7 separate regions of the Homo sapiens genome follow, and regions 2, 3, 4, 5, 6 and 7 are each linked to region 1. The links are contacts of gene promoters, found by promoter capture Hi-C in blood cells and fetal thymus (Javierre and others, 2016). All regions are on one chromosome and are shown on one strand. The core of a region is centred on a gene start or on the middle of the fragment in contact, and the rest is flanking DNA. Distances in the headings are between cores, read along the strand shown. Region 1 holds the start of CCDC184 (coiled-coil domain containing 184). Region 2 overlaps HDAC7 (histone deacetylase 7). Region 3 has its middle 16 kb from the start of OR5BS1. Region 4 overlaps VDR (vitamin D receptor). Region 5 overlaps VDR (vitamin D receptor). Region 6 overlaps VDR (vitamin D receptor). Region 7 holds the start of C12orf54 (chromosome 12 open reading frame 54).

Region 1 (2,649 bases), core at 85-2,584:
CTTTCCCAGATTTATTCTTATGAACTTCATTTTTGGCTTCCGATCACTTGGCTTCCCTAATTTCCTAGGGTCATTATTAATTATTGTGCTCTGCCCAGGTGCTGATTCCTTCTCAATCTGCAATCATCTACGTATATTAAAGACAATTTTTCTTCTTCCTCCACCCTTCCTGCTCCACCCCTTAAATAGGGAAAGGGCTTGTCACAAAGGTTGGGGATACTCAGTGTATGTCTGAACTTGGGCACTGAAAGAGAGAGCGGGAATTACTCTAACACACAGTCCCCCCATCCATACCCTCCACACAACGGTCAACAGTTTACCTTTTCACCTGTGAGATGATGCAGACTGTTATTCAGAATTAGAAATAGTATTATAGATTATCCAGTCCAATTCCCTAACAGATGAGGAAAATGATGTGGCCAAGGTCGCTGAATGAATAAGTGGCAGAAACGAAACTGAATTCAGGTCTCCTAAAACCCACTACGTTTGGCTTGGGGAGTTCTGGATGAGAGCGTGGGACTTGGTGGTTTTTGTTATTCATTCAATAACTATATTAAGCATCTACATACTAGGTGCCAGGCACTATTTTAGGAGCTGGGGATTCCGTGATGGAGGGTGCAGGGGAGACAAAAATCTCTCCCCTTATGGAGCTTTCATTCTCAAAACTTAAGCACTTGGCCTCCCCATCTGGGACAAACTCCCAGAGACCTGCGTAGGAGCGGTAGGGTCTCATAAAGGAGGGAGTCCCATCCTTCCCCCGCTCCGGTGATTTCTATAGCTAGAGGGCTGATTTACTGCAGAAACCTCCGTAGCGCCCTCCTCCTGCCTCTGCACCGTCAGGCCCGGTGGGTCCGGCTCCAGAGCGCCACCGTGCCCCAGCTCAACTCTGGGATCATTAGCAACAGCCTCTCTACCCTCTCCGCTTTCCTGCGCATCGCTGGAGGACAGGGAGGCAGGACTCGACTTTAGCGCCATCCTCTGAGAAAGGAATGCGGGCTGGAAAAATCTTTCCAGGGCAGTCTCGCTGGGTCTCATACCCCGGCTAGGGGAGGGACGATCTCTCCCGGACTTGGAGGTTTCTGCAGCAGACGGCTCTCTCATACTTCCCTATTAAACATTGCGACCACACGCTCTTTCCAGCCTTGGCCGAAGCCACTGTAGCGTCCCCTCTCCTCCCCCCACCCCGCTAGTCCAGACTCCAGAGCCCCACTGCAGCTTCCAGCCATCCTCCCTTTTTCTTCGCCACTTCCTGGTTACCATGGAGACACACGTCATTTACGTGCCGTGCGTCGCCTTGGAAACAGAGGAGCATCCGCGACACCCCCGGGAGACCCACCCCAGCTGCTGCTGCCACACTCGCGGGCGCTGCCCGGTAATGGCCTGGGGGAGTCCCGAGTCCGACGCGCCGCTGGCCTCAGCCTGGACGCGGACCCCTCCGCGAGCGCGTCTGTGACCCACGGAACCGGCAGGCGCTCTCTGCTTGTGGCGCCCAGAGGGCGGCGCTGACACGGGCGCGATCCGGGAGGCGAGGCAGGGCAGGGCACTTTCGTCCCGGGGCGATCCCAAGAGACGCCGGCTCTGGGACCCTCGCCGGGTCCTCGTCCCGCAGCCTCTTCTCGGCCTCCCGCGATCCTGCCTGCGCCCTCTGCCCAGGACTCGTCTCTCACGTCGGCTCCCCGCCAGTCTCGGGAGCCTCCGCTTCCCTCGGCTCCCGCTAGCCCCTCCCGGGACCTCTCCCCCTCCACCCCCTCCCCCACCCCGGAGGCCGGGCTGGACGCGACCCAGAGCCTCCGCCACCCGCTTCTGCCACTCAATGGAGGACGGTCTGCTGGAGATCATGACCAAGGACGGCGGCGACATGCCGGCGCCCCTGGAGGTGTCCACCGTGCCGGCAGTGGGGGACGTGATCTCCGGGGAGTACAACGGCGGCATGAAGGAACTGATGGAGCACCTGAAAGCCCAGCTGCAAGCCCTGTTTGAGGACGTGAGGGCCATGAGGGGGGCCCTGGACGAGCAGGCCTCGCACATCCAGGTGCTCTCGGACGACGTGTGCGCCAACCAGCGAGCCATCGTCTCCATGTGCCAGATTATGACCACTGCGCCCCGCCAGGGCGGCTTGGGCGTGGTCGGCGGCAAGGGGAGCTTCCAGAGCGACCCCCAAGAGCCGGAGACTCCTTCGCCTGGGATCGGGGACAGCGGCTTGCTGGGTCGCGATCCCGAGGACGAGGAGGAAGAGGAAGAAGAGAAGGAGATGCCCAGCCCCGCCACACCCTCCAGTCACTGTGAGCGCCCCGAAAGCCCCTGTGCTGGTCTCCTTGGGGGGGACGGGCCACTTGTGGAGCCCCTCGACATGCCCGACATTACCCTGCTGCAACTGGAGGGCGAGGCCTCCCTGTGAGGGGACTCCGTGGGGCACTACCTTCCCGGGCTGTCTTTGGGTTTCCGAGTGCATGACGCGAGGGGGACTGAACGGCGCGGTGCGGCATGCTTCACTTGGACAGCTGCTCTTGTGGGTCAGGCAGAGAGAGACTCCCTCGAGGAAGGATTTGTAGGGTGAAGGACTTTGGGAGCATCGAGAATTCTTTCTGCCCAACTAAGCGAATTATAGCGAACTGCGGAAAGGTGAGGCTCCGGGAGAGGAAGCGCCCA
Region 2 (2,649 bases), core at 82-2,581, 380 kb before region 1:
GCGGAGGCTGCAGTGAGCTGAGATTGCACCACTGCACTCCAGCCTGGGCGACAGAGCAAGACTCCGTCTCAAAAACAAAAACAAAAACAAACAAAAAGAATACCTACTTCAAAGAGGTCACCTGAGATTAGCAATGCTGTCTGTGATGCACCCAGCACATGGTGGGTGCTCCCTTGTGGTAGCGAGTATTAGTTTGCCTCCTGTACTTGTCTGCAGCCTCCTTCCTGGCATTAGCGTTTCAGTGTCTGCTCCCAACTCTCCTCCCTCCTCTACCACAGACCATTTTCTCCTGAATGCATGCCCCTGCCCCATCTCTCTCTCTCTCTCTTTTTTTTTTTTGAGATGGAGTCTCGCTCTGTCACCCAGGCTGGAGTGCAGTGGCACAATCTCAGCTAACTGCAAACTCTGCCTCCTGGATTCAAGTGATTCTCCTCCCTCAGCCTCCCAAGTAGCTGGGACTACAGGCATAAGCCACCAAGCCCAGCTAATTTTTGTATTTTTAGTAGAGACGGTGTTTTGCCATGTTGGCCAGGCTGGTCTCGAACCCCTGTCCTCAGGTGATTTGCCTGCCTCGGCTTCCCAAAGTGTTAGGATTACAGGCGTGAGCCACCGTGCCCAGCCCCCTGCCCTATCTCTTATCCCCAGCCTCTCCCAACTATGCTCTCTTCCCTTTCTCTTCCACCTGAACTTTTGTAAGCGAACACCTTATTATGTGCCAGGAGTTGTTCTAAGTACCCTACATTTGCTAACTTATCTAGTCCACATGACAAACCTATGAGGTATTTACTGTTTTATCCCCATTAGATAAATGAGTACGCTGAGGCCCAGCAGTATTAGATAACTTGTCTGAGGTCACAGACAAGTGGCAGAGGTTGAGCTGGGACTTGAGCCCAGGCAATTGGGCTTCAGAATCCACGCTCTCAACCAATACACTCCACCCCTCCTCCCCAGCATTCCCATTCGCCACAGGCCAGCCAGCAAAGGACACATGCAGGACCTAGATGGGCATGCAGAAAGATGGAAAAAAAAAATCACACAGCCCCACAGAGACCCGTGCCAGCAGCAATCCCCAGCCCTGCGCAGGTGAGAGGGCAGAAGCTATGTCATCTTTGGGTGCCCATGAAGACAATCTCAAAGAATCATTTGGAGCAACTGTTGACTTTGTAGAAACCAAGCAATGATTTGGGACTGTGTGCTGGAAACAGGGGGCTGGCAATGGGTTGGGGTCTTAGAGGACCCTCAGCTCCAACTCCCCTGCTCTCAGTGCCCTGCCATATCCCTTCTCTAGAAGCTCCCAAGTCCCTCTAGGACTCTCTCATTAGCGTCCCAAAGCAAGCTGCACCATTTCTCTGTATAGGCAGAGGAGCCAGCTGCCCATCAGGGCAGAGGCTCAGCTGCCAGGTGAGCCAGCCGGGATGTCTGCCTACCCAGACGAAGGCCTCCATCAGTCCGAGGCAAGAGGACAGAGAAGCTCCTGCACACCAAACAGGAGGCTGGATGTAAGGGTGGCAACAGTGAGCATGCCTCTTTCTCCGCCACCTCAGGGCAGCTGGGGCCCTGAGGCAGCTATTTTTAGCTCTTGACACCTGGGTATTTTGCAGCCGCAGGATGTCCGGTTTGGAGTCTCTTTCTGGGAATCCCACATGCGGCTGTTGTAAACAGCCCCACGCAGCAGTGGCCTGAGCTGGGAGCCAGTGTCGCCCCCCCACCCCACCTCCACTTCTGCTGTTTGAGATGAATCAAACAGGAAGCAGATGTAACCATGGCAGCAGCGGCTTGAGCTCCCTGGGGGTGGGAAAGCATCCTCCCTGGTTCTTTGTCCCCCACCCCAGATCCCCAGCTCCACCCTGTGGCCTCTCCTCAAGGATGAAGACCTGGCAGAACCTGAGGCCGGGGAGCTGGGCCATTCTGAGTTGCGTATGGCTGTCGGTTTCTGGGTCTGGCACTCTCTGGAGACCCTTGCTGTCCTCTGACAGAGAAAAACAGGGGTCCTCCCAGCCCTGTCCAACTCCCGGGACCTCTCGGGCCACCACTCAGCCTTCCCTGCAAGTCCATTGTGAAGGGGAGGGCATAGCTACTTCCTGCGGTGGCAGGCCTGGAGGGCCTGCATCTACTTCCTATTACCCATGGCCTTCAGCTTATAGCCTGGCCTGCCCCTGCACTGCTCTGCCCACTTAGGGAATTCCTGAGCCAGTGGGCTCCCCTAGTCCACACTACCCTAAGATTTCTCAGTTCCAAAAAGCCCTCAAAGACATAAGTTCCACATTCATCCTCACTCCTCTGCTCCAGTATCTCCAGTCCCTGAGATAGGAAGTTCACCATGATGTCTAACTACCATCTTTCCTATCATAAGCAAAACATCCTGAGCAGGCAAGATTTGAGGCCCTATCTGTAACATGGGGATAAGTCGGCCAGTTTCTGCCTTCATCTCTCCCCTTCGCCTTTACCCCTCTGGTGCCCCACTTAGACCAGTTGCTCCTTTAGCAGCCAGTGTGAGCCAGTCTTTCTCAAGGGCCAGTGTTTGCCCCAACAGGAAGCACAGTCACCGCCCCAGGCTGCCTCTAGGGGCGGCTCCTTCTCCCCTCTGAGGTGTCACACTCATTCCCTTGCTCTCCTTGTCACCCCAGCTCCTGGGCCCTCCTCATGCAG
Region 3 (2,649 bases), core at 63-2,562, 360 kb after region 1:
AAAACTGAAACCTCAGGAGCTAGTAAAATGGATTGGCAGGAAATTTCAATCCAGTGGCAGGTCCACTAAAATTCAGTTCCACGGTTGCTGCATTAGCAAAGGTAAAAGGAAGCCCAAAGATCTCCTTTGGCTGAGCTTCACATTCTCTGGCCAGGAGACGGCGCTCCAACCAAAGGAAGCTGGGCAACCATAACCTGACACCGGGTTGTAACTATGAGACTAATTACTACTAAGAAGATATTTAGTTAAGTTGAAATGTATTTCTAATATGTAGGCAATTTTAATTTTGATGTAGTTGTTTAATTTTTCTGTAATTAATGGGCCATTGAAAATTGCATTCTTGTTAATTGTTGGAATTTTCTTACTGGCCTTACATGGCAAGTTTTGGTTATTCCTCAGCCATTATATATATATATATATGCCACCTTTTTATGGCAAAAATTACTTTTTGGTTGTAAAGTTGTTTATTCTGTGTTCTTTGCTAATAAAGATTTGTTATCGGCCGGGCATGGTGGCTCACACCTGTAATACTAGCACTTTGGGAGGCCAAGGGGAGCAGATCACGAGGTCATGAGATCGAGACCAACCTGGCCAATATGGTGAAACCCCATCTCTACTAAAATACAAAAAAAAAAAAAATTAGCTGGGCGTGGTGGCTCGTGCCTGTAGTCCCAGCTACTCAGGAGGCTGAGGCAGGAGACTCACCTGAACCTGGAGGTGGAGGTTGCAGTGAGCCAAGATCATGCCACTGCACTCCAGCCTGGTGAGAGAGCAAGACTCTGTCTCAAAAAAAAAAAAAAAAAAAAAAAAGACATTTCAAATGGGGCAAGCTGACTGATAATGGAAGGACGGCAAAAGGAAACATGAAAGTAAGGGGTTGTTAAGTGAAATCATTGAGACATTTTGTAGTGTTAAAAGCAGCTTCCCTTTGAGCCCTTGTTGAAATGGCTCCTGAGGGTTTTAGATCAAGGTGCAGTGTTCCTGTCCTTGAACACTGCTGAGTAGGGAAGAATGTTTGCCAGCTCCTAAGGGAATATTTGGGCTTACACTGGATCTTCAGTTGTCCGCTACCTTTGCAGGGACAGTTCATGGGGCAGCTGCTAGTTCACTAGACTGGATCAAGGGAAGGACGTGTCATACATACCCAGATTGTCTGAGCTCCTGGTTCTGATGTGTTTCACATACACATTGGTGGTTTCTAATCAAGAGAGTGAGCACATGCTAGTATGACCCTGTAGGGGGAAGAATATTGGAGCTCCCTCCAGGGCTGTCTCCAGGACTCCTTGATGGGAGGCAGCTTTTGGCTGTGGTGCATATCCTTACTTTAATGCTGTTGCTACATTTGTATCATTTTTCCTGCAAATCATAGATTTGTAAGCAACGTCATTTTGGGTCCCTGGAGTCTTCTTTATCAATGGAGTCCTGTCTAACTGTCATCATTAGTACAAAAAAACCTCTTACCCTCAGGAAGTCTGCAGTTTATTGGGAGCTGAATAGCAAGTGTGGGGTCAGCAAGGAGGCCCAGAAGGTTAGCAGGGAGGGTTTCTCATGAGCCAAGGGGAGAAATTGTAGGTTGGTCATTCAGACTGCAATGAAGTCTAAATGAGCTAGGGTTATTTTGCCCTAAGCCCATAACCAAAGAGCTTGCTGGGGATTTTGAGAAAGGCGGACATTAGAAGATATCTGGGTTTGAGGAAATTTTTTCTGGAGGGAGAATAAATCATAAGTACTCAAGGACTTGAATAAAGTCTCATAAAACTTCGAAGTGAAAATAATAGATTTTTCTATTAAATAATATAATTAGTATTTAATGGAATAAGCTAATGATATGCAAAATCAACTGAAGATGCAGCATGACTGACCATTAATATATCTAATATTATCTATATCTAACATGAACATGTCCCACCATACTCTCTAATCCCAAGTCCAAGGCTTTCCTGAGCTAAGCTGCAGCTACAGCAATCGGAAGGTGGGAGTGGTAAAGCCCCAGGTCCCATGGAAGTCCCGTCTGCAGCAGCAGCAGCAGCTGCTGCAGCGTGTGTGACCCTTTCTATCCGGGGGCTGAACATGGATGTTCCAGGAACATTAGCACTCGGGTGATGGATATACAGCTGAAAGGTTGGTATTGCCCCATGTAAATGCACCTCTCTATCTGACTCCCAAGCATCTAAGGAAGAACTAAAACAGAGGAAGTTTTCCCTGTCTTGAGGATGGGAAAGCATAAAACTGGAGTGCAGAGGTGGGTGCCTGGAAGTGGGACTGGCAACTTATCTGGTGCTACACTACAGGCGGAGATTCCCTTCTCTCATGAGACTGTTACCACTTAAAGAACTGAAATAGCCAGTCTTTTGCCACAATGAGCAAACGAAACAATAGTACAAACAGGCAATGAAAGACAACCATCAAGAGGAATAATCAGAACAACCCCATTAAAAAATGTTGAAGGAGATACACATGGACCAAAACAACTACCATGGAAAAAAATACATATATATATATAATGTTTTTGAGATGAAGTTTCACTCTTGTTGCCCAGGCTGGAGTGCAATGGCATGATCTTGGCTCACTGCAACCTCCATCTCCTGGGTTCAAGTGATTCTCCTGCCTCAGCCTCCTGAGTAGCTGGGATTACAGGCACCCACCACC
Region 4 (2,649 bases), core at 63-2,562, 340 kb before region 1:
GCCTATCAACCCCATGGTCTGTGCAGTGTTTTTGCTTTATGTCTCTTTTAAGAAGCAGACTCATTCGAACTACCCCAGGTGTGGCATAGCCCATTGTAAGGGGAGGATGTTCCCTATAGCACTTCCATATGATGTCAAGTTAGTGGCCATTCTGCCCTACAGATCAACAGAAGCACATGACGCCAGCATCCTCATGGAGTCATTCACAATTAGTACCAGATAAGAATGCATTGTGTAGACCAGTGCTGCCCCATAGACTATTCTGCGATGATGAAAATGTCACGCTTGTAATCCCAGCACTTTGGGAGGCTGAGGCGGGCAGATAACTTGAGGTCAGGAGTTCAAGACCAGCCTGGACAACATGGTGAAACCCTGTCTCTACTAAAAATACAAAACTTAGCCAGGCATGGTGTCAGGTGCCTGTAATCCCAGCTACTCATGAGGCTGAGGCAGGAGAATGGTTTGAAACTGGGAGGCAGAGGTTGCAGTGAGCCGAGATTGTGCCACTGCACTCCAGCCTGGGTGACAGAGCAAGACTCTGTCTCAAAAAAAAAAAAGAAGAAAAAAGAAAGAAAAAAGAAAGAAAGAAGAAAGAAAAAAGGAAGAAAATGTTGTGTATTTGCACTGTCTCTTACGGTAGCCCTGAGGTTATCAAATACTGGAACTGTGGCTTGTGCGGTTGACAAGCTAGATGTTTACCTTTATTTCATTTAAATACTCACATGTAGCTAGTGGCTACTGGATTGAACAGTGTAGGCATAGAACCAAAGCTTGGAATATGAAAACTTGAAAACACTTGATCCTAATTATGCAACCTTCCTGGGGTATATTCCTCTTGGTTTACCTGGAAAAGCGCATTATAACACAGCCTTGGAAATTTTGTGTTCTTCTAGGTCAGCTATAAAAATGCTACATAAGATCCTTCTAACAGTGTATCAGAACTCCATTCTCCACATTTCTCCAGCCAGAGACATGCCCATTTATGCAGCTGTTGATTTCCTTTCTCTAAGTCCCTTCATGTTTCACAAAATAACCCTCAAGTTCTAACCCCAATTCCCCTAAGTCCATCTCATCCCACTGAAACACATTTTAGCCTTTGGTTTGAAATATTTTCAGATGTTTCTGAAAAATTAGAGTGAATCACATCCCCAGGCCAACTTATCCTCAATCAATACATTAGCTGGCATGATTTCCTTATTTTCAGATCACAATGCTGTGTTCTTGTTTACTGTGCCTAGCAATGCTACCCTTCATCATAAACCCCACTTCCTTGGGAAGCAGAATGGAGTGCATCGGCATAAGTTGGGCCCCTTAGGAGTCCTGTTTCTGCACAGCAGTCATTTGTAATCCTCCAGGTCACTGGCACAGCCGCCATCTCTAATGGCAGACACAGTTTTGCCAGTAGCTGTTTGGTTTTCATTTTTGAGGGTCTCACGTAGGTGTCATATATTGACTGCACACTTCCTGGGAGTAGAGCACAGTTTGGTCCAGCACCTCTAATTTTCCTGGCTCAGGGCCTGCTTTAGGAATGGGAACCTCTTTTATCTCCTCTCTAGGAGAGAGCTAGCAAGACCATCAGTCGTCTGTCAGGTCCCCCAACTCAATAGGAAGCAGGACAATGTAGCAGTTAATTTGTGGCTTCTGAACCTAGCTGCTGAAGGTTCAAATCCCATCCCTTGCTAGTGTGGCATTGCTCAAGCTATCCTTTCTGTCAAATGGGGGTAATAATGATTCATCTCCCATAAGGTCCTTATAAGGATAAGGCAAATTGGTTTGCATAAAGCATTTATTTACAGCAGTACTTGCAACAAAGTAAGTGCTATATAAGTATGAGCCATTTTTATTACCATAAGCAAAGCTTTCTACATTGGTTGACTTGACAAACTTCTGGCAAACTTTTTTTCTCTTTGGAAATCATTCAGCAGGCACTGTTTACATCCTTTCGCTGCCATATCTCTAGCTTTCACTAAATCTGCCACACATTCCTGCCTTCTCTGTTGACCTCGCTTGGATTCTCCTACATGCTTCCAGTTAGCCAGCCAGAGGATTTTCCTGTCTCTGGGAATCTTGTGGAAAATCTTGCATTTTGGGGCACCTTCTCCTTCAGTTATAATGATATACCTTAAAAGTTTTACATTTACAAATGTCTATTTCACACTCTCATTCTAAAGTAGAATCGATGATGACCTTTTCTCCCCGTTCAGCCCCATAAAAACTCATTTTCCCCTCTTTTCTTTTCCTCCCAGCTCCTAGACTTCCTTTGGAGGAGTGGCCTAGGTGGTGGGGCCCAGGGCTGAGTAACTGATATTTCCAGGAGTTCCCCGAAGAAGGCAGGGCCAGAGGGAGAGCTGGGAAGGTGGTGACATTACAAAGACAAATGCATGTTATAGATGAGGCAACAGCATTATCCAAGGCTGAGGTGGAGAGCCCAGCAGGCCAGGGCCACATCGTGGTGGGGTAGGGTCTGATTCACATTGAGGCAGAGGTGAGTCTCCTTCCTTCTCCTTCTGATGGGTTGGTGGAGTTACAAGCCAGGGAAGGAAGGAAAGGGTCCCAGATCCAGACTTGCTCTTTCTGAAATCCAGGGCTTCCCCCAGGGACTGGGTCAGCCACCTGGGGAATGAGAGTGGGGGTCTGAGCTCAAACATG
Region 5 (2,649 bases), core at 104-2,603, 320 kb before region 1:
TTTTAGTAGAGATGGGGTTTCACCATGTTGGCCAGGCTGGTCTCAAACTCCTGACCTCAGGTGATCTGCCCGCCTTGGCCTCCCAAAGTGCTGGGATTACAGGCGTGAGCTACCATGCCCGGCCTTTGTCTTACAATTCTTATATTTCCCCCATAAAGGCTAGACCGGAGGGGCTACCTGGCCGTGGTGTCTGCTCAATAGTCTGACACCAAATATCAAATGCATCCACACAGATTACACCAACTGTGTGCAAATCATTTTCCTGGTTCAGGAAAGGCTAGTGAGTACTCTAGTGCTGCTTGTCTCCTGCAATGTAGTGAATGGCACCTGGCACACCAGAGAGCTGAGAAAGCTGACCTCTTTTATTGAAACAATTGTTATGGAAAGATTTTCAAGACAGAAAACCTTGTAACGGAACACTTTTAACGTCATATAACCTTTCCCTGATGATTCAGAGGTATCATTCTGAATAATTACTGAACATTGCAGGACAAGGTTACAGCCTCAGAGTTGTCAGAGGCTGTCTGCCCCGCATTGCATGGCTTGGCGTGCTGGGCTTTGGAGTTCTTGGGCTGCTTTTCTTGCTTCCAGTGTCCACCTCCCTGTTAAACTATGCGTTGTCTTCTTATTGGTGTCTGCCTCTGGATGTGTGCCTTTCTCCCCCTTAAGACTTACTTCTGATCTCTTGGGAGCTAGAAGTTCTGGTGATCAAGTTTGATGTAATAAAAAGAAAATATTCGTAATGCTGGATGGCACATAAAGAGTTTTTCTATCTATAAGGCACTATTCTGAGAGCCTTTTGTATATTAACTCATATATTTAGCCCTCATGACAACCCTTTAAGGCAGGTGCTGTTGTTATTCCCATTTAGCAGATGAGGGAGCTGAGGCCCAGAGAGGCTTTCTACCTTTCTCAAAGTCACACAGCTAACAGTGGTGAAACCAGCATTTAGACCTGGGCAGTCTGGTTCTGGAGTGGAAGGTCATAACCACTAGCCTCTACTGTGTCTGATTACATCTGGTTATAAGCGGACTTTGGCTTTCAGCCATGGAGTTTTGACAGGCATTGTGTTCCAATCCATCTGAAGAGTGTGAAAATAAAATTAAGTCACAAAGCTTGTAAATTACCCACTTTAAAGAGACAAAGAAAGTTCAAGTTTAACCCTATAACATGATTCCTCCCAGTCACTTGCATCAAATAGCAACCTCCATCTTCTATGGAGGTAACAGAGGAAGAAATGCTGAGATCTACCAGTTTCACACAGGCCCAATCCATGAGCCTTCTGCAAGGCAACATTGCTTGAGGACTGAATAAGTCTAAAGTCTTTCACATATGCAAATGCACTGTGATTTACGAAATAATTTGTTTAAAGATCTTGTTAATTTCATGGGAAATTTCTTATCATTTTTTCAATGGATTGAACCTAAGATGTCATTACTATCATATAGGAAGACACTATATGATATATGAAGCCATTGACCTAGAATAAGAGTAAACAGGTTCTGAAAGAGTGTTGGGCTGTCTGGTGATCAGGCGTCTAAAGTGCATGAGTTTTGGCATGTGGACTTTGTAAAACCTACATGGCTGCTCAGAAGCTTTTTTTGACTTCATTTTAAGCTCCTTGCTGAGTGTGAAATAATTTTGCGCAAGTTATTCCCATGCAAGACATGTTCTCTCCTTAACGAAGCCAAGATCTGCAACATAAACAATTTGAAAACATTTCAAGATGCCAAGGATGGGCTAAGAACAACCACAGGAAGAGGACATAAAATGTTTCCAAATGAACGGCACAGACATGATCAGGTTTGGGAGAATCTTACTGATCTATAGACCTGTGGAAGATATACAGAGAGAAAGAAGCATAATGAGGAGCTAATATTCATTGATTCCACACATTTATTGAGCACCTACTATGTGCCAGGTACTTTACTAACACCAGGGAGAAAAGACATACATCTGTAAAAACATCAAACAAGTTACCACAATGTGTGGTTCTGTGCAGGACAGGTAATAGTATAAGCAAAAAGCAAGAACTCAGTTATAAAATTTCTTGGGTTCCCAGGGTATAAAGTCAACTAAGAATGGAAAAGAGAGAAAATGAGTCTTTGGTGGGACCAAGCTCTCTTCAATCCATCTCTTAGAGCATGTGAAAGTGCCTGGAAATGCACAATGGAGTGAGCTCCGACCCACTGGGGCCACGAGAGGCTGCCTCGGGTGTGGCCCACAAGCCTGCCCTTTGGAAGCAGAAAGACCTAGATTAGAATGAATGCTGATACCATCATCTTATTAGCTGAGAGCCATGATATTTTAATTCCTCTGAGCTTCCTCAGCTATTGAAAAAATAAAAGTATTTACGTATTTAGGGAGTGTTGTGAGAATTTCAGAAGAAAATGCATGTGCTTGATGTGCTATCTGACACACAGTAGTTGGTCAATACACAGGGTTTCTGTCCTCATCCTTTCCCTTCCTGTGCCTCTTCTATGGAAGGCCCACCTCCTTGCTCGGACAGCAGGAGCCTGGGCTTTTAGCTTTCTTCCTGTGGTTTTACAAATATTGAGACACTCAATTGTCTCTGGGATGCTATGCCTTGGGGACAAAACCCAGCCCAGATAAGAAATGTGCAGCTCTCCCAGGGTTCTGAGGCCGGGG
Region 6 (2,649 bases), core at 104-2,603, 300 kb before region 1:
GTCCCTCATGGCTCAGTTTAACTCCACATTGACTGGACCCTCCTAAGGGTGGTAAAGCTGTGACTCTGAGAAGGACCATGGAGTGGACAAGAAGTCTGACCGCTAATGTCTTTTCTAGCTCTGAGAGCATGCAACTCCAAGACTGGAATTCCCATCATGAGAAGCACTATTTTTTTTTCTTTTTAAGAGACAAGGTCTCCTCTGTTACCCAGGCTAGAGTGCAGTTGCACAATCACAGCTCACTGCAGCCTCTAATTCCTGGGCTCAAGCAATCTTCCACCTCAGCTTCTCAAGTAGCTGGGGTTACAGGTGTGAGCCACGCCAGGAAAGAAGACCTTAAATGAGATGAAGCTTTCTCCCTGATCCCTCATTAGCCAGATGAACCACAACATTCATGCCTCAGTGAGTGAGACTCACTCATCCTCAGATGCCAATGAGCAGGAAGGGCACAAAAGATGTGGCCCCTAATCGACCCCAGGAGAGGGGTCCTCTCTCTGCCAGGTTGGGACTGGAGTGATCTAAACTGGGCTTTCTAATTGTTGACATTGTTCCAAAGTTCCTACTCCTTCTAGAAAGAAATGGAAAGCTAAGCTATTTCCCCACAGAGTGGGAGACAATTCTTCTTCTTCCTAAAATTGCCACACACAGAGTCAACCAAGTGTTGGGCTTTTCCAGGAGAAGATATGCCTGTGTGTCCGCCAGCCACAACCGCACATGTACTTGTGCGTACACACCCTTGTCTTGCTATTTTTCGTTTCATCATCCATTAAACTCTGCCCCATCGAGTGCTAAGCACTGCATGACCTACCTAACTTTTTGTCTTCTCTTTATTCTGGTGCATAACTCAGGCATAATAATATCATGGCCAGCTAAGGTGATACCCTCTCTTTCTTCTCCACCATCCCCACCATGTATCCATTTTCTTTGTCCAGAACAGTCTCAGTACCTCCCAGAAGAAGCTGACAGAGAACAGAGTGATAATAATGGGGAGTGGAGAGGGTTTACTGTATAAATAGAACATATCCAAACTACTTCCTGCCCCGACTGTCTCCCCAGCTCCTTCATACACACATCTTTTAAATATGTGTAAGAACGATTGGAAATTATTTTCTACAGACCACAATGTCCACAGTAAAACCCAAGAGATAACATTCAGCTCTGAAAATCTCAAGATTGGAAGGCAACAGCACCACCTAGTCCAATCATCTTAAATTTCTTCTATGATATTCTAGCCAAACAGTTTTCTAGCCCATGCTTGAATAATTTTCCTAGTGGAGAACCACCTCCCACGGCAATCCACTCTCTTTGGATGGCTCTATGCTTAGAAAGCTCTGTATCATGCACAGATGGAACAGCACCCCATAGCTTTCAATGGCTCCTCCTAGATAGCTCTTTGTAGCCATGTTAGACAAAGCTACTAGGCCATTCGCACAGGAGCTCTAGAGGAGGGCTTAGGGGGCCACCATATGGTACCATATGCACATTAGAAAAAGGAGCCCTGGCCGGGCGCGGTGGCTCATGCCTGTAATCCCAGCACTTCGGGAGGCCAAAGTGGGTGGATCACTTGAGGTCAGGAGTTCGAGACTAGCCTGGCTAACATGGCGAAACCCTGTCTCTACTAAAAAAAAGAAAAAATACAAAAATTAGCCGGCTTTGGTGGCGGGTGCCTGTAATCCCAGCTACTCAGGAGGCTGAGGCGGGAGAATCTCTTGAACCAGGGAGGCAGAGGTTGCAGTGAGCAGAGATCGCACCGTTGTACTCCAGCCTGGGCGACAAGAGTAAAACTCCGTCTCAAAAAAAAAAAAAAAAAAACAAAGGAGAAGAAAAGAAAAATTAAAAAGGAAAAGGATCCCTTTTTCTAAGACTCTTAGACTTTTCTAAGACACTAAGCCCTAAGACACTTCACTTCCATCAGTCAGAAAATTATAAAAATAGAACACTCTATAATGCTTATGTTGTGAGTGAAGTTGCAGGGGAGAAGCAGCAGAAGATAGCCTGGGTTACACTTAATTTTGATTTAGACTCCATCAAATTCCCAGGTTTGATCATGATCCCCACAAGAAGAGTGAGTAAGGTGGTAGCACAGACAGCGTCCACCTTTGTGGCCTGCACCTGGAGAGAACAGTGTCTGTTCTATGGAAAGGGCCCATGGAGCAGTGTGAGTGCTGGGTGTGCTCCCAGCAGGGCTGCCACCTCCTCTGTCTGCCACTTGGCTCTTTCCAGAGGAGGCTGGGCCCCAGCAACGCAGCTCTAAGAACCTCTAAGAACATTTAAGAGGCTCACCAGTTATGACTGACTGAACGATGGGAAATTCAGTGGCTGATGACACAGTAGTTGTAGGAAGGAGTTTACCCCTGAAGCTTGTTCTTCATTAACCCTTTTGGGACTATGCATCACCTTTGAGAACCTGCTAAAAGCCATGGACTGACACCCCCTGCAGTATCAGGGTGTATTAGTCTGTTTTCACGATGCTGATAAAGACATACCTGAGACTGGGAAGAGAAAGAGGTTTAACTGGAATTACAATTCCACATGGCTGGGCAGGCCTCAGTATCATGGCGGAAGGTGAAAGGTACTTCTTACATGGCAGTGGCAACGGAAAAATACGGAAGAAGCAAAAGTGGAAACCCCTGCTAAACCCATCAGATC
Region 7 (2,649 bases), core at 77-2,576, 300 kb after region 1:
TATCCTCTGAATCCAAAATAAAAATAGAGTTTTTTTTTTAAAAAAAATGACTTTTGGATAGCAAAAGACTTGGGGTGGTTTGAGAGAGGTAGGAATTGAGTTGGATTATGAGATACATCTGGCCATGAAAGGGTAAAAGTCCCTGTGATGTGAGATGATAAAGGGAGGAGCTTAGACTCCTTATGGAAACTGAGGTAAATAAAAAGGTAGATTATGATGGAAATGGCCCTGCTGGTCTCTTAGAGGGTGGGAGAGAGTAACCTCTAATCAGAGTCTAATTTGAAGCACTTCATGATAGTAAGAAGGTGGTGTGCAGAGAGGGTCCATGGTGGTCTCACTAGTAGCACCTGGAGCTCTAAAATCAAAACAAGGGATGGGACAGTATGCCTTTCCTTTAAAGTCTGCTAAAGACAGGTGGAGCGCCGAGCCAATGTTGACACCTCCATCTGTTGTACATACCCTGGCATTTTGTCGCAGGTTGCATGATTTGTGAGTCCTCTTTAGATTTTAGCCCTCTCCTTCTCCACTCTGCATTTCTGCATGAGGAGTTTTCCCACCATCACCTGGGCAGGCTATGGGACCTGAAAGGTACTATCTCAGGTCCTGTCTGCCTAAACACGCTATACCACAATTCCCACTTCACCACGACCTCCCCATGTAGGCACAGTGCTCTCTCTGAGGCTGCTCCTCCAGGGGTCTAGTTTCAAGGGAGAAGCTGGCCCTTGGTTCCTTCTGTTCTTAGATTTCTAGACATATTGGGATATTTTATATGCACCATCACCAAAAGGAAGCAGGTCCCAGAGTTGCACACCTACACCTAATGCCTCTTCCCTAATTTTCACTTCCTGCCTCCGTATTAAAACCCTATACTTTCTTCAGAAAAACTGTTTTCATCCCTTCTAAATCTAAATGGTTTTAAATCCATGATCATTCACAAATCTTTGGTGATTTTCTAGGTCAAAGACTTTGGGAATTCACAACAAAACCATTTCTCTCTGAAGGACCTAGCTCTTGAAATTGAAAGCCAGATTTCTCAGACCTGATTTTGAAATTCAAAGTAAAAACTGGATTCTTCTGGCCTCATTCCTTTCATCTCTAAGAATCAATGGATTTCCAATGCAATGGGTAGAAGGCAATGAAGAAGCAAAAATTCCCAGAAATTAAAATTAAAATCCCACAACATTATCCCTCCATTTTACCATTATCGTTTGGATTGAATGGAGCCTAGTGTGTGGCTGGGAGGGAAAGCAAGTTGTCCGTCTATGAGGTCACAGCTGAAGTCACAAAGTATTGAAAATGGCAAGGTTGATATGGGAACAGGAGGCTGTTGTGAGATGGGGCTCAAATAGGAAAAAGTCTAGGGGTGAAGGAGTGGGGCAAAGTGTAATTTGGGGAACCAAGCAGGGTAAGTTTCTAGGCATAATTGACCTCGTTCTTGACTGGGGCTTGGAGGCCAAGAAGGGTGGGAGTGGGAAAAGTGGGAGGGAAACTTCTCAAAGGAGGATTTGTCTCCTGTCTGGGCCACTGCCTATGAGCCCTTCTTCTCTACAAAGCACTTTAAGGCTGGAGCTGATGGCCCTCCATCCTGAAACTCCTCTATCCTTAGTTAACCATGAAAATTCTGACTGAGGTGGGAGGGGGTGGGGTATTTGACAATCTTGCATTCACTCTACACTATTTCCTGTCCTTGCCTGAACTCAAAGACCCTTTGGCCAATCCCCCATCCCCAATCTCAGCCAACTTATTTTTCACTTAGATTCTCTCTTTTTTTTTTTCGTCTACTTCCTCACTGCAATTTCTGTTGTTACTGACAAAGACTATAGGAAGATTTTACCCAGGGCAAATACTTCCTTCCTCTTACCCTCCTCTTACCTTCATCTTTCCTTATGCATATGTACATGCATATGCACACATACATGCACATATATGCAAGCACACACATGCACATGCACACTCACCCATTCAAAATACAAATGCTCCATTAACTGCTGGTAGTTCTCCACTGAATAAGCGCTTTTCTTCTCACCATGTACCTGCCTTCTCCGCATATTCATTTATGCCTCTCCAGGGCCTGGAGCTATCTCCATCTTCAGCTCCAGAGTCCTTGGTTTCTGTCTGAGAACAAATGGCACAGCATCCCTGCCAGGATCAGGAACAAAAGGTAGAAATGACCTCCAAGCAGCAGAGAAGGTAATGGGGCTAATGATGACCCTCAAACATCCTTAGATTGCTATACTCTATGGGAGAAGAACCAGGGCCTCCTGTCTTCTATGGCTCTTCATTTGGCTTCACTTGCTTCCTGGCTGAATAAGATGGGGACTTTCATGTGTCCTCCCTCTTCTCCATCTCCTTAATGAAAGAGATAATAGCAAATCTTTGTCATTTTAATTTAGAAATCAGGCATCAATTGCAATTCCTCTAGGGGTTGGCGGGGTATACAAACTAGGGACATTAATTTATTCCAGGATTGACTTTGCCTAAGTCCTTTATATCCTCTATAGTGTAAATCAAGGTCAACCATCTAAAATCAAGCTTCTCTTGGCCTACAGTGGAAAAGAGGGCTAGAATCTGCTGCTTGAGGCTAAATATGAGACCCAGGTGATGGTATCCATGAAGTCAGAAAAGAAGGAGGGTTTACTGTGAACTTAT

The links. Contacts are between HindIII fragments. The CHiCAGO score rates a contact against its expected background, and 5 or more counts as called.
Region 2: a fragment that was not itself captured here is called in contact with the fragment with the promoter of CCDC184 in region 1 in 1 of 17 cell types (fetal thymus); the score reaches 6.9 in fetal thymus.
Region 3: a fragment that was not itself captured here is called in contact with the fragment with the promoter of CCDC184 in region 1 in 2 of 17 cell types (M1 macrophages and megakaryocytes); the score reaches 5.9 in M1 macrophages.
Region 4: a fragment that was not itself captured here is called in contact with the fragment with the promoter of CCDC184 in region 1 in 6 of 17 cell types (erythroblasts, fetal thymus, naive B cells and 3 more); the score reaches 8.8 in erythroblasts.
Region 5: a contact is called between a fragment that was not itself captured here and the fragment with the promoter of CCDC184 in region 1, in 1 of 17 cell types (erythroblasts). The highest score is 6.5, in erythroblasts.
Region 6: a fragment that was not itself captured here is called in contact with the fragment with the promoter of CCDC184 in region 1 in 1 of 17 cell types (erythroblasts); the score reaches 6.4 in erythroblasts.
Region 7: the fragment with the promoter of C12orf54 here is called in contact with the fragment with the promoter of CCDC184 in region 1 in 4 of 17 cell types (megakaryocytes, M1 macrophages, neutrophils and 1 more); the score reaches 6.4 in megakaryocytes.

The regions. Positions count from the first base shown.
Region 1 is chr12:48,182,310-48,184,958 of GRCh38, forward strand. CCDC184 (coiled-coil domain containing 184) reads left to right here and starts at 1,335. Exons shown (of 1, transcript NM_001013635.4): 1 at 1,335-2,649. The coding sequence starts at 1,814. The coding sequence ends at 2,398. The HindIII fragment of the contact is 3,853 bases long and covers 1-2,649 here.
Region 2 is chr12:47,806,619-47,809,267 of GRCh38, forward strand. All of the region lies in intron 1 of HDAC7 (histone deacetylase 7), which reads right to left. Among named protein-coding and RNA genes, the nearest start is that of HDAC7, 12 kb to the right of the region's middle. RefSeq lists an enhancer at 2,314-2,383. The HindIII fragment of the contact is 4,820 bases long and covers 1-2,649 here.
Region 3 is chr12:48,542,345-48,544,993 of GRCh38, forward strand. No RefSeq gene overlaps it. Among named protein-coding and RNA genes, the nearest start is that of OR5BS1, 16 kb to the right of the region's middle. RefSeq lists a silencer at 81-190. The HindIII fragment of the contact is 5,711 bases long and covers 1-2,649 here.
Region 4 is chr12:47,839,769-47,842,417 of GRCh38, forward strand. It overlaps VDR (vitamin D receptor), which reads right to left. Exons shown (of 10, transcript NM_000376.3): 10 at 1,769-2,649. LINC02354 (long intergenic non-protein coding RNA 2354) reads left to right here. Exons shown (of 3, transcript XR_007063292.1): 3 at 1-340. Among named protein-coding and RNA genes, the nearest start is that of LINC02354, 12 kb to the left of the region's middle. The HindIII fragment of the contact is 1,088 bases long and covers 769-1,856 here.
Region 5 is chr12:47,860,142-47,862,790 of GRCh38, forward strand. The region is part of intron 4 of VDR (vitamin D receptor); the gene reads right to left. Among named protein-coding and RNA genes, the nearest start is that of LINC02354, 32 kb to the left of the region's middle. The HindIII fragment of the contact is 480 bases long and covers 1,114-1,593 here.
Region 6 is chr12:47,885,530-47,888,178 of GRCh38, forward strand. All of the region lies in intron 1 of VDR (vitamin D receptor), which reads right to left. Among named protein-coding and RNA genes, the nearest start is that of VDR, 18 kb to the right of the region's middle. The HindIII fragment of the contact is 2,009 bases long and covers 350-2,358 here.
Region 7 is chr12:48,481,172-48,483,820 of GRCh38, forward strand. C12orf54 (chromosome 12 open reading frame 54) reads left to right here and starts at 1,327. Exons shown (of 9, transcript NM_152319.4): 1 at 1,327-1,405; 2 at 2,069-2,190. The coding sequence starts at 2,126. The HindIII fragment of the contact is 2,624 bases long and covers 1-2,530 here.